3 separate regions of the Homo sapiens genome follow, and regions 1 and 2 are each linked to region 3. Evidence: promoter capture Hi-C in 16 types of primary human blood cells and fetal thymus (Javierre and others, 2016). All regions are on one chromosome and are shown on one strand. Each heading gives the region's core, a stretch centred on a gene start or on the middle of the fragment in contact. The rest is flanking DNA. Distances are from core to core; before and after follow the strand shown. Region 1 overlaps CDCA4 (cell division cycle associated 4). Region 2 has its middle 24 kb from the start of MIR6765. Region 3 holds the start of TEX22 (testis expressed 22).

Evidence for each region. Contacts are between HindIII fragments. The CHiCAGO score rates a contact against its expected background, and 5 or more counts as called.
Region 1: a contact is called between a fragment that was not itself captured here and the fragment with the promoter of TEX22 in region 3, in 1 of 17 cell types (monocytes). The highest score is 5.4, in monocytes.
Region 2: a contact is called between a fragment that was not itself captured here and the fragment with the promoter of TEX22 in region 3, in 1 of 17 cell types (endothelial precursors). The highest score is 5.2, in endothelial precursors.

The regions. Positions count from the first base shown.
Region 1 is chr14:105,012,131-105,015,808 of GRCh38, reverse strand. All of the region lies in intron 1 of CDCA4 (cell division cycle associated 4), which reads left to right. Among named protein-coding and RNA genes, the nearest start is that of CDCA4, 7.1 kb to the left of the region's middle. The HindIII fragment of the contact is 5,093 bases long and covers 1-3,678 here.
Region 2 is chr14:105,125,258-105,128,573 of GRCh38, reverse strand. No RefSeq gene overlaps it. Among named protein-coding and RNA genes, the nearest start is that of MIR6765, 24 kb to the left of the region's middle. The HindIII fragment of the contact is 3,947 bases long and covers 1-3,242 here.
Region 3 is chr14:105,396,657-105,399,992 of GRCh38, reverse strand. TEX22 (testis expressed 22) reads right to left here and starts at 1,455. Exons shown (of 4, transcript NM_001195082.2): 1 at 1,358-1,455; 2 at 503-691. The coding sequence starts at 652. It overlaps PACS2 (phosphofurin acidic cluster sorting protein 2), which reads right to left. Exons shown (of 25, transcript NM_001100913.3): 25 at 1,846-3,336. RefSeq lists enhancers at 344-854, 855-1,365 and a silencer at 1,033-1,942. The HindIII fragment of the contact is 23,339 bases long and covers 1-3,336 here.

The DNA of each region.
Region 1 (3,678 bases), core at 556-3,055, 380 kb after region 3:
CTTGTAATCCCAGCTACTCGGGAGGCTGAGGCAGGAGAATCCCTTGAACCTGGGAGGCGGAGGTTGCGGTGAGCTGAGATTGCGCCACTGCACTCCAGCCTGGGCGACACAACAACAACAACAAAGAAGTGGGGCTCCTGTGAGATGGCCTAGAACATGTTTGGCTTTCTCTGGTTGGTCCTAAATTGGAAGCAGGGACAAAAACTGGAGAGGTTGTCGGTTACTAATCATGTCCTGGCCATTTTGGGCTGCTTGCTATGGAAATGATTGTTTAGCTTCCTGGATTGTTCCTAGAGAAAGCAGCCAGGCTTCCTGCAGGTCTGACTAGGGCAACCTGGCTTCCTGGCCCGTTACTGAAGGTAAAGGGCTGGTTTCCGACTGATGGCGGCAGATAATGGCTGAGAGTTCTGTTTCTGTATGTGGTTCCGCCATTGTTTGTTGGTATATTCCCTCGCTCAGAGCAGATGTTATTAGGGTGATTTCTGACGGTCACGTATTGCTAGTGCTGCCCTTAGGACCGCTGACAGCACCAGGCCAAGCACTGAATTCATCCTCTTAAGATCCCCAGTGGGAGGCTTCTAGTATCCATATCTGGCTTTCAGAAAAGGGCGGGAGGGTCTGTCGTTGGGTTTGGACTCAGGACCTGGCATTTCTAAGGACTCAGAGGAAAGGAAAGTGGGACCCAGAGGGTCCTAGGAGCTTGGGACAGCTTCTTGAACTGGTTCCCAGTGTGGTTGTGGGTCTTCTTGGCCTGTCCCATTGGTATTCTTGTTCCTTCTGTGAGTTGCCCTGATTGCCCTGCTCAGTCGTGCTGACCTCCTGTAGGCCCCACATTATGGGGGTTGTGCTGCTGGGTTTCCAGAGTCAGGGGAGGCAGCCAGGGGTTCTTCTGTCTATAAACTTGGGCTTAATGCATGCTGTTCAAGAGGATTTGGTTTGGGTCCTAAATTAATCCATTGCTATGCAGGCTTGGGATTGAGATAGGTTGAAAGAGAAACTAAAAACCTAAAAGGTATATTGACTTCCCACAGAGGAACCCGTGGGACTTAATCTTTTCCCCAACGCAGGGTGTCCTTTGTAGTTTGACATAGCCTTATGTTAATTCTCGATATACTTAGCAATTTTAAGCCAGTGATTTAAACAATGGATTGGGATGGAAAAGCTCTGAAAAGTTAAATTTGTGGCTGACACAAAGAACTCGAATATTTACCAAAAGTAATAGAAATGTGTAAATGTGTTTTGGTGGTAAACTGTCCTTCATTTAGAATTAGTTGAGAAGCTGGTGTATGCAGGTGTGAGAGGCGGTGCCCAGCCTGAGGGCTGTGCCTGTGGTGACACTGGCATGCTGCTCTGGGGAAATGGGTGCTGTAGGGGAAATAAGCTAGGGTTAGGGAAGTTTTCCTTTAATTTTAATTTTGAAATAATTGTAGAGCCAGGGGAGGTTGCAGAGCAGTGTTCAGGAGGTCCTATGTGCCCTTCCTCTGCTCCCCAGGGCCGGCATCCTTGTAGGATGCACAGCCAGGCCCCAGGTCCGTGTGATGACACGGCTGCCGCAGGCGCATGTGTGCGTGTCCGGCGCTGTGCAGTCAGGGTAGGGCCACCCCCACAGCCCAGGAGCAGAAGGGCCCTCACCCCCAAGATCTCCCTGCGCAGGTTCCTTTCTAGCCCTGCCACCCCTCAGCTCTGGGTCAGCATGACAATGTGGCATAAATGGGATCCCATAGCAAGCACCCTTCTGAGGTTGGCTTTTCTCCCTCAGCCTAATGCCCCTGTGGAAGGATCCGTCCTGTGTATCAACAGTTCATTTCTTTCTATTGCAGAGTAGGATTTGGTGGCATGAATGGAGCAGAGTGTGTGTCACCGTGCCCAGGTGAAGGGTACATTTTCCTTGTTTCAGATTTGGAGCTACTACAAATAAAGCTGCTGTGCACATTCTGGAACATGTTTTTTGCATGAACATTGGCTTTTTCTCTGGGATAAATGCCCAAGAGGTCACTTAGTTTTTTAAAATTTACATGTGTTAAAGGCACGGGGATGAGATCTGTGACACTGAAGGGAAATTCAGAGAACAGGGGGACCCTTTCTTCTGTTAATTCAAGGGTAGGACCAGCAGGTGGGAGCCTCCAGAGGGGCTCCTGGGAAGGGGTATGTTTGGCAGCCAGTTCTCCCGCACTGCAAAACTTCCCATCCTTGGTCTCCAGACCCCGAGCAGAGACAGCATGTGCCTCCCATACGCCAGCTTTCCAAGAGCACCTGGGTATACCCTGGTCACAGGGAGCCATCAGATTGACTAAGAGAAAAAGAAGTTCCAAAGTTTGCATATTCAAAAGATTGTAACCCTATTTATGCATAACTTGAATTATTTGAAATAATATTTCACTACATTACAAGCATGAGAAGAGAGAAACTTAATCATGCGTGAGATGCTTGTCCTGTCAGACTCTGCCGGCCAGTATGGCCCTGAGCCAGCTGTCATCCTCCCAGCTCCCCGCAGGCGGCACTGGCTCAGAATGGCATCTGTCAAAAGCCAGAGCCCACCCTCCTGTCTGCTCTGCCTTTAGTGCCCCAGAGATGTCCCAATTTAGAATCAGTTAAAAAAAAAAAAAAACAGTTTGCACAGACTTGTACTTCTGAGAGTAGACATGGCCAATGTCCATCTAGTGCATCTGTGCTGTGCGTCTTAGTGGAACCTGCCCAGCAAGGCTGAGCCTTAGGTGCCATCCCGGAGTTGCCCAGGTCTGGGGTAAGATCCAGGAATCTGCATCTTCAACCAACAGCGCCAGTGCTGAGGCATACGCCGAGAAACACTGCCTTGGCCAGCTCTGGGCTGCCACAACACACTGGTGAGGAACCCACCCCCCCTGCCCCGGACACACACATACCCTGCCATGTTTTGGTTCCTTTGAAGAGAAAGGAGTTGAGATGAGAGGGGAGGTGGCCCCTGAGGCCATGGTTGTACGGGCTGGTCAGAGCTCTCGAGTGGAGGGCATTGACCTGAGAGATGTCAAGTAGAAAGCAGCCAGGCAGAGCCTGTGCACCTTGGGAGAAATGAACTGGTGGGGCGGGTGGGGGGAGCCAAGGAATGGGTGTGATCCCTAAGGCAGGCAGCATGGGCGGGTGTGGGAGCAAGGGACTGTCCAGGGCCACATAGGCTCGGCCAGGAGACCCTGTGTCCCTTGGAGAATTGTGCACGAAACACAGACCACTCGCTGCATGGGATGAGCATACAGCCCTGCAGTCCTTCCCCTGCGCGTTCCTGGTGGCACAGCTTTCCAGCCCGGCTGTCTGCGACATATAGAGGCTTTTAGTGAAAGCATTGAGGGGGAAGGCACTAACTCTTCTGAACGCAGAAGTGACTTTGTCCGAGGCAGGATCCTGAGGGAAGTCAGAATGGTACGTGTGTGTGCCCGGCCCTGTCCGGCCCCCGCCCTGCGCCCTCTGCAGGCTGGCACGGTTCACATTAATCTCATGTTACCCCAGGGTCTCTTCTTTTGTACACACCACAGTTAGATTTTTGAAACAGATTTTCAGCCAAGCTCTCGAACACTTACATTTCTCTTATATATTTCTCCTATTTTTAGTTCATTTATCTTTTTTGCTATAAAACACTGTCGTGGTACAGTTGAGAGGTTTGTCGTTTCTAACAACGTGACTGTGCCTGGCTTAGGCAGGATGGCA
Region 2 (3,316 bases), core at 20-2,519, 270 kb after region 3:
CCCAGCTACTCAGGAGACTGAGGCAGGAGAATCACTTGAACCCAAGATCACTTGAACTGCAGAGGTTGCAGTGAGCCAAGATCCTGCCACTGCACTCCAGCCTGGGTGACAGAGCTAGACTCTCTCAAAAATAAAAATAAAAATTTTAAAATAGAGACAGGGTCTTGCCATGTTGCCCAGGCTGGTCTCAAACCCTTGGCCTCAAATGATCATCCCACGTTGGCATCCCAAAGCACTGGGATTACAGGTGTGAGGCACCGCTCCTGGCAGGGGTCATGTTATCTTTGAAGGAATGTAGTGACTCAGGCAAGAGATGTGGGGGCCGTGCGCTCTGTCCTGCTTTGTCTTCAAAGCATCTTTCTGGAGAGCTACACATTGTGGAAGAGTCAGGGCTTTGTGAAATTATACTGCAAGCAGAAAGGAGCACACGTGGCTTCTTACATTTGCTACTTTGTTTTGCAAAAGTAACACTTGTGCATTAGAGAGGATTTGAAAAGGACAAAATACAGAAACTAAGGGGGAAAAATCCATCATCCCACTACTCAGAAACAACCACAGTTAATATTTTGGGATTTTTGTTTTGTTTTCTGTCCTTTTATTCTATTTAATTTTTTATTGTGGTAAAATCACATACTATAAGATGTACCATCCTAACCATCTTTAGGTGTGCAGTTCATGCTTCGTAGTTTTCAGTTTATACACCTGACGTCTCTTTTGTCAAATTTATCCTTAGTATTTCATACTAGGTGATGCCTTTGTGGGTGGTGTTTTAAAATTTCTCAATTTCCAATTGTTTCTTGCAAGTAAATAAAAATACAATTGATTTATCTGGGCGTGGTGGCTCACACCTATAATCCCAGCACTTTGGGAGGCTGAGGCAGGCGGATTACCTGAGGTCAGGAGTTCGAGACGAGCCTGGCCAGCATGGTGAAACCCTGTCTCTACTAAAAATACAAAAATTATCCGGGCATGATGGTGGGCACCTGTAATCCCAGCTACTTGGGAGGCTGAGGCAGGAGAATCTCTTGAACCTGGGAGGCGGAGGTTGCAGTGAGCTGAGATCGTTCCATTGCACTCCAGCCTGGGCGACAAGAGCAAAAATCTGTCTCCGAAAAAAAAAAAAAAAAAAAAAAAAGCGGTTGATTTTTGTTTAATGCTCTTATATCCCACAACCTTGCTAAATTCCCTTACTTGTTCTGGCTTCTGTCTTTTAGAAAACTGACACGAGCTCTGCTAATGATGGAGGTGTTGCCTGAGTCATCCAAGCCAACCTGCTGTTTCCTAGACATGAAATTGCCGGGTTGCAGGACAATGAAGCATTTTGAATAAGCGCTGCCAAACTACTTCCAAAAAGAGCTGCTGACTTCTACTACAGTACGGGCATTCCTGTCTTCCCCATCCCGCTAGGCAGGCTGTGGGATTTGGGGCAGAGCCATGGGGCTGTCTGTGAAACAGCTCCCGGTCCTGCACCTGGCTCTGCACTACGAGCGTCATCCTCACGGCTTTTCCAGGCATCCTGTGGGCGATTTATCTGAGTGTCAACAAATGGAAAGAGGGTTCTGTGTGAGTTCCTGTCCTATAGCATGGAGTGTCATGTTAAAGGACACTTTTTGTGCCGTTGTCTAAATACAAATGGCTGCAGGCATTGAACTAATGGACTTTGGACAGAGTCAAGCAACTCCATAGTGAGGGACGAGGAGGCGACTTCCCCCACCTGGTTCTCGCCCTCCTGTCAGTCCTTGCTGGCCAGGGCCCAGTCCATCGCATTCTGCTCACCCACCTAACCTCCGCAGCTGGGCGGCCTTTCATCCTGCTTGATTGAATGGTATGAAATTGCCTCTTTTTCGTCAAAACAGCCACCTGTCAGCAATTCCGTGCAGTTCAACCAAATTATTGAAGTGCAGCTGATGCTCAGTGTCAATTTTCTCCGCACGCGGTTCCCTGGCCGAGCAGCCCCTCAGGGCCCAAGCATGGGAAACAGAGGGGCCCTCCTTACAGCGGCCTTTCCTGACCAAGTGCATCCTAACCTGAGCAGCTAGAGGGGCAGGGAGACCTCACCTTCCTCATCCTTCTTCCTCTCCTCTGGAAATAGCAGAACCTTCCAGTGGCTTTCCACCTTATTCAGAGAAAAAGCCCAAGTCCTCAAAGGTCACCCCACGGTCCAGCTCCCCGACCTCCACCCTGCCCTGGCTCCTGCTGGCTCCTTGGGCGGCCTCCAGGTGAGTGCACTTGCCTGCTCCCTCGCGTCTGAAAGCCTCTGCCTGTTGCCCAGCACCCCTCCCTGGTCGCGGGAGTGTCTCTGTGATTCACAGCCCCACGGTGCCTCTCATTGCTGGAGCTGTTTATTGTCTGTCTGCCCCCAGAACCCAAGGTCCAGTAGGGCAGAGACAGACTGGATTTCCCCTGTCCTGTCCCCAGGTGTGACCTGGTATGTTGCAGACACCCAGCAGATACTGCATGCACGAATGGATGAATATCAACGTCAAATTACTTTTCATAAAAGTTCCCTTTTCGGCTGGGCATGGCGGCTCACACCTGTAATCCCAGCACTTTGGGAGGCCAAGGCAGGTGGATCACCTGAGGTCAGAAGTTCAAGACCAGCCTGGTCAACATAGTGAAACCCTGTCTCTACTAAAAATACAAAAATTAGCTGGGCATGGTGGGGGTTGCCTGTAATCCCAGCTACTCGCAAGGCTGAGGCAGGAGAATCGCTTGAACCCATGAGGCGGAGGTTGCAGTGGGCTGAGATTGTGCCATTGTGCTCCAGCCTGGGCAACAAGAGCAAAACTTTGTCTCAAAAAAAAAAAATCCCTTTTCTTGTCCCTGTTTTGCTTGTGCCTAAGGGTGTGTGTAGGATACTGTTTGTTGGGCAATCCAGGATTTCCTACACGGGCTTCACTTCAATTTTGCTGTTACATTTCAATACCAAGTGGGTTTGTTTGTTTGTTTGTTTGTTTGTTTTAGAGATGGGGTCTTTCTCTGTCACCCAGGCTGGAGTGCAGTGGCATGATCATGGCTCACTGCAGCCACGAACTCCTGGGCTCAAGTGATCCTCCTGCCTCGGCCTCCTGAGTAGTTGGGACCACAGGTGTGCACCACCGTGCCCAGTTTCCAACTGTGTGTGTGAGAAATAAGAACTCATAGGTGCCCTAATACCTGGATTCTGACATGTTTGAAAAGACAGGTATAAAATGCTTCAATCACTGCTGTCCTTCAGCCTTGCATATTGCTGTGGAGAAGCTTGTGGTCAGTGTTGTTTCACTCCTTGTGGTAACTTGATTTTTCTGCCTGTGTGGCTGTAGGATTTATAGCAGGT
Region 3 (3,336 bases), core at 206-2,705:
CTCACTGTCCAGCAGTAGAGAGACCAGGAGATGCTTCCAGTTTGGGGAATCACAGCAGAGCCTCTCCCACTATTTTGTTTTGGTCAACTTTCAGTGACAAATCCTTCTCCTGACAGCTGCCCCACCTGGTTGGGAGGACACCACCCCCCCTGGGGACCTTGCTTTCCCTCCCGCTTCTTGCCACCTTCAGCCTGGGGTGGGAGGCACTGGGGAGAGCTAAGGGAAGTGTGTTGCCTTGCCTCCTTCCTGGCCTTGGAAGACCTCTCTACAGAGCCCAGCGGCCCACGGTTCTGGAAGCAAGAAGGGTGCAGGTCCACCTTGGTGCTCGTCCAGGGCCATGGGGAAGAGAGCCTCCTGAGTCCAGCCATCTGTTTCTCATCAGTCCCCACTCAGCCCTCCCCTGAGGCTGCTCATCACGACCAGCCTGGAGTTTTCAGAGACAGCGGCCTCAGGCGGGCTGGGGACAGGAGAGTAGCCTCGGCCAGGGTTTCCTTCCGCTTACCCAGTCCTGAGTCTGCAGTCCCTGCTGAACGCTGCTCTGGATACTGGGCTGGCCCCAGGCTGCTATCAGGCCCAGTGGGGGCCGCCTGTGCTCTTGGGAGAGGTGCGACTCCAGCTTCTTCCCCCGGGGGGACAGTTTCCTGCTGTCCATCTCTAGCCCTAGTAGGCTGCTTGTCCACACCTCTGAGATCTGGGGGTAGGAGCAGGGGGAGGTGGGGCGGGGCCCACAAGGCCACCCACGTGCCCACCAATACCTGAGTCCCTGGGGGCAGATGGTGGCAGTATCGCGGTCTGCTAGGGTCACCTTCCAGCCAAAGGTCAGGCATCACTGACCCCTCTGGGTGGAGTGGATCCCCCAGCTCCCGCCGCAGCTCTTCTCCACACCAGCCTCCCGAACTGTCCTCTCTGCCCCTGCCGACCCCACCCCGGGAGCCTGGAAAGCCTTCGGCAGCCTGCTGCACGGACTCCACGCCTCTGCCAGCCTTCTCAAACGTTCCAGGGGCATCAGCCCTCAGCCAGCACTGCGGGCACGCTCTCAGGGCCCGGCCTTGCTACGCCCGGGGCGAAGGAAAGGCCCAGAGCTCTTGCCACAGCCCCGCTTCCGACCCTGAGACCTCCCCTCCACGCGGCCCAGGCCTCGCCCCAGGCCCAGCCCGGAGCCCTTACGTGCCCGCCCTCTCCGGTGGGGAGGCGGGGTCTGCGCGGCCGGGGTCCGCGGAGGGACGGGGGAAGAAGGCTCAGGACACACGCTGGAGGCCGTGGGCACTCTGGGGTTCGGCGGGGGGGCGGGGTACACGGGAACGGCGGTCGGAGGTGGGGGGTACGTGGGCACCCGGAGACAGAAGGAGGGACAGACCCGCCGCGGATGGAGAGGCCACAGGGGGCCGCTGGAGTACACCGCGGCTTGAGGGGGCCCAAGGGGCCGGCGCCTCGCTCCAGAACGTCCGCTACGGCAAGCCCCGCCCCCACCGGTTCCGCTTCCGGTCTGCGCCGCGCCTGCGTTCTGGGCTCCGTTGCGGCGGGTGGGGGATGGGCGCGGTCTGGGGGTCCCCGGCGCATATCCGGGTCTATGGCCGCTACCGCCCCACGGGCCCTTCCGGGCGTCGGCCTCCGGGGTCTCCCGAAGCACAGACCTGAACTTGGGGTTTGTCGGCCAGAGCCCCTTTCGGCCCTGCGCCCTTCAAGCGGCGCGATGCCGCTGAGCCCCGGGCCACCTCCGCGCGCGCGGGGCCGCAGGGCTGGGGCGGGGCGACCCAGGACGGGGCGCGCGGGCGGGAGGGAGGCGCTGCTCCGCCGCGTGCTCCCAAGGGGTGGACGGCCGAGAGAATCACACTGCAGGCGGGGGCCGGCCCCTCCAGGTTTATTAGTGTTGCATCAGCACCTTGAAATAGTCCACACGGTCACATACGTGACATTAGAATCCGTTCCCCAAAAAGCTATTTACATTAATCCAGGGTTTCATTAAAAAAAACTAGCAACACATACATCCTAGAAACCAAACAATGCACAATGAACCGCATGGGGGTCTGCAGAAACTACAGTGGTGCTTCTTTGGCCCACAGGGTCAGATTCCAGAGGTGCCCAGCAAGCCCAGCTCTCAGTCCCCTACAGGCCACACACCCGCGGACGGCAGGACAGGTCTCGGGGAGGGGGCGGCCTGGCCCTCGGAAGAAGTGGCCTGGTCATTTTCATGAGGAATTCATTCCCGGAGGAAGGCGAGAGGCACTCAGGTCTTTCCATCTGGGAATGAGGACAGTGTGGCAAGGCTGCCAGTACCCTGCAGAGACACCCCCAGCTCTCACCCAGAGGCCCCTCTCCTGCCCCAGCTCTGGCCGAGGCACTGAACCAGGACACTGGCTTGCATGCCCAGAGACAGTGGCCAAGGGGACCAACATGGAAGAGGAAGGCAGCAGACCAGATTGCAGGGCGGGACTGGCCCACAGCTGGCCTGGGTGAGGGTGGGGTCTGTCTACGTAATAGTGGACAGTGGCCACCAGGCCTGAGGGGTGCCTCGGTGGTGACTGGTGGCTTAACCTTTGAGACTGATGGGGCTGAGCCCTAGCTCTACAAGGGGCTGCCTCCTGTCCTGTGAGGCCAGTCCAGGGCCAGGTTCTCGGGGGGTGTGCACACCTCACACACACATCCCCCGCCCTTACCGCACTGGCTGTCAGATGGCTTTGGTTTCTAGTTGTCCTTGGTGGGACAGAGTGCTCCTCCATGCACCCTCAGAACAGCTCTGTGAGGTAGGCAGGGAAAATGCGACCATCCTGTGTAACCAGTGGGAAAACCGAGGCACAGAGGGCTGGCATGGCCCAGGTCTTGTCTGCCCAACCTCCCTGGTGCTGGGCATGGTGTGGGGGATGGACCGTGGGGCTCCTGGGTGCAGGGCAGACCCACAGCCCAGCAGCAGCAGGGGCACAGGGAGTGCCACCAGAACCCCCAGCTGCTGGATGGAGACTCTGCCCATGTTCTCCCCTTGCGTGGCTAAGGATGGAGCTGTGCAGCCAGATGGGAGGTACGGGGTAGGCAGGAGGGCTCCAGGAAAGGGGCTGCCCACAGCCAGGATGCACTAGGCAGCCTGTGGCCCCTTCCTCTAAAACCTGCTCTGAGGCCAGAAAGCCACAGCAAGGATGTTTCCACCTTCATCTCCCTACTGAGTGTGACCCTTGGGAAAGAAACAGGAAGAGCAGGCAGGACGCGGTGACTCACGCCTGTAATCCCAGCACTTTGGGAGGCCGAGGCGGGTGGATCACTTGAGGTCAGGAGTTCAAGACCAGCCTGGCCAACATGGCAAAACCCCATCTCTACTAAAAATACAAAAAAAATAGCCAGGTG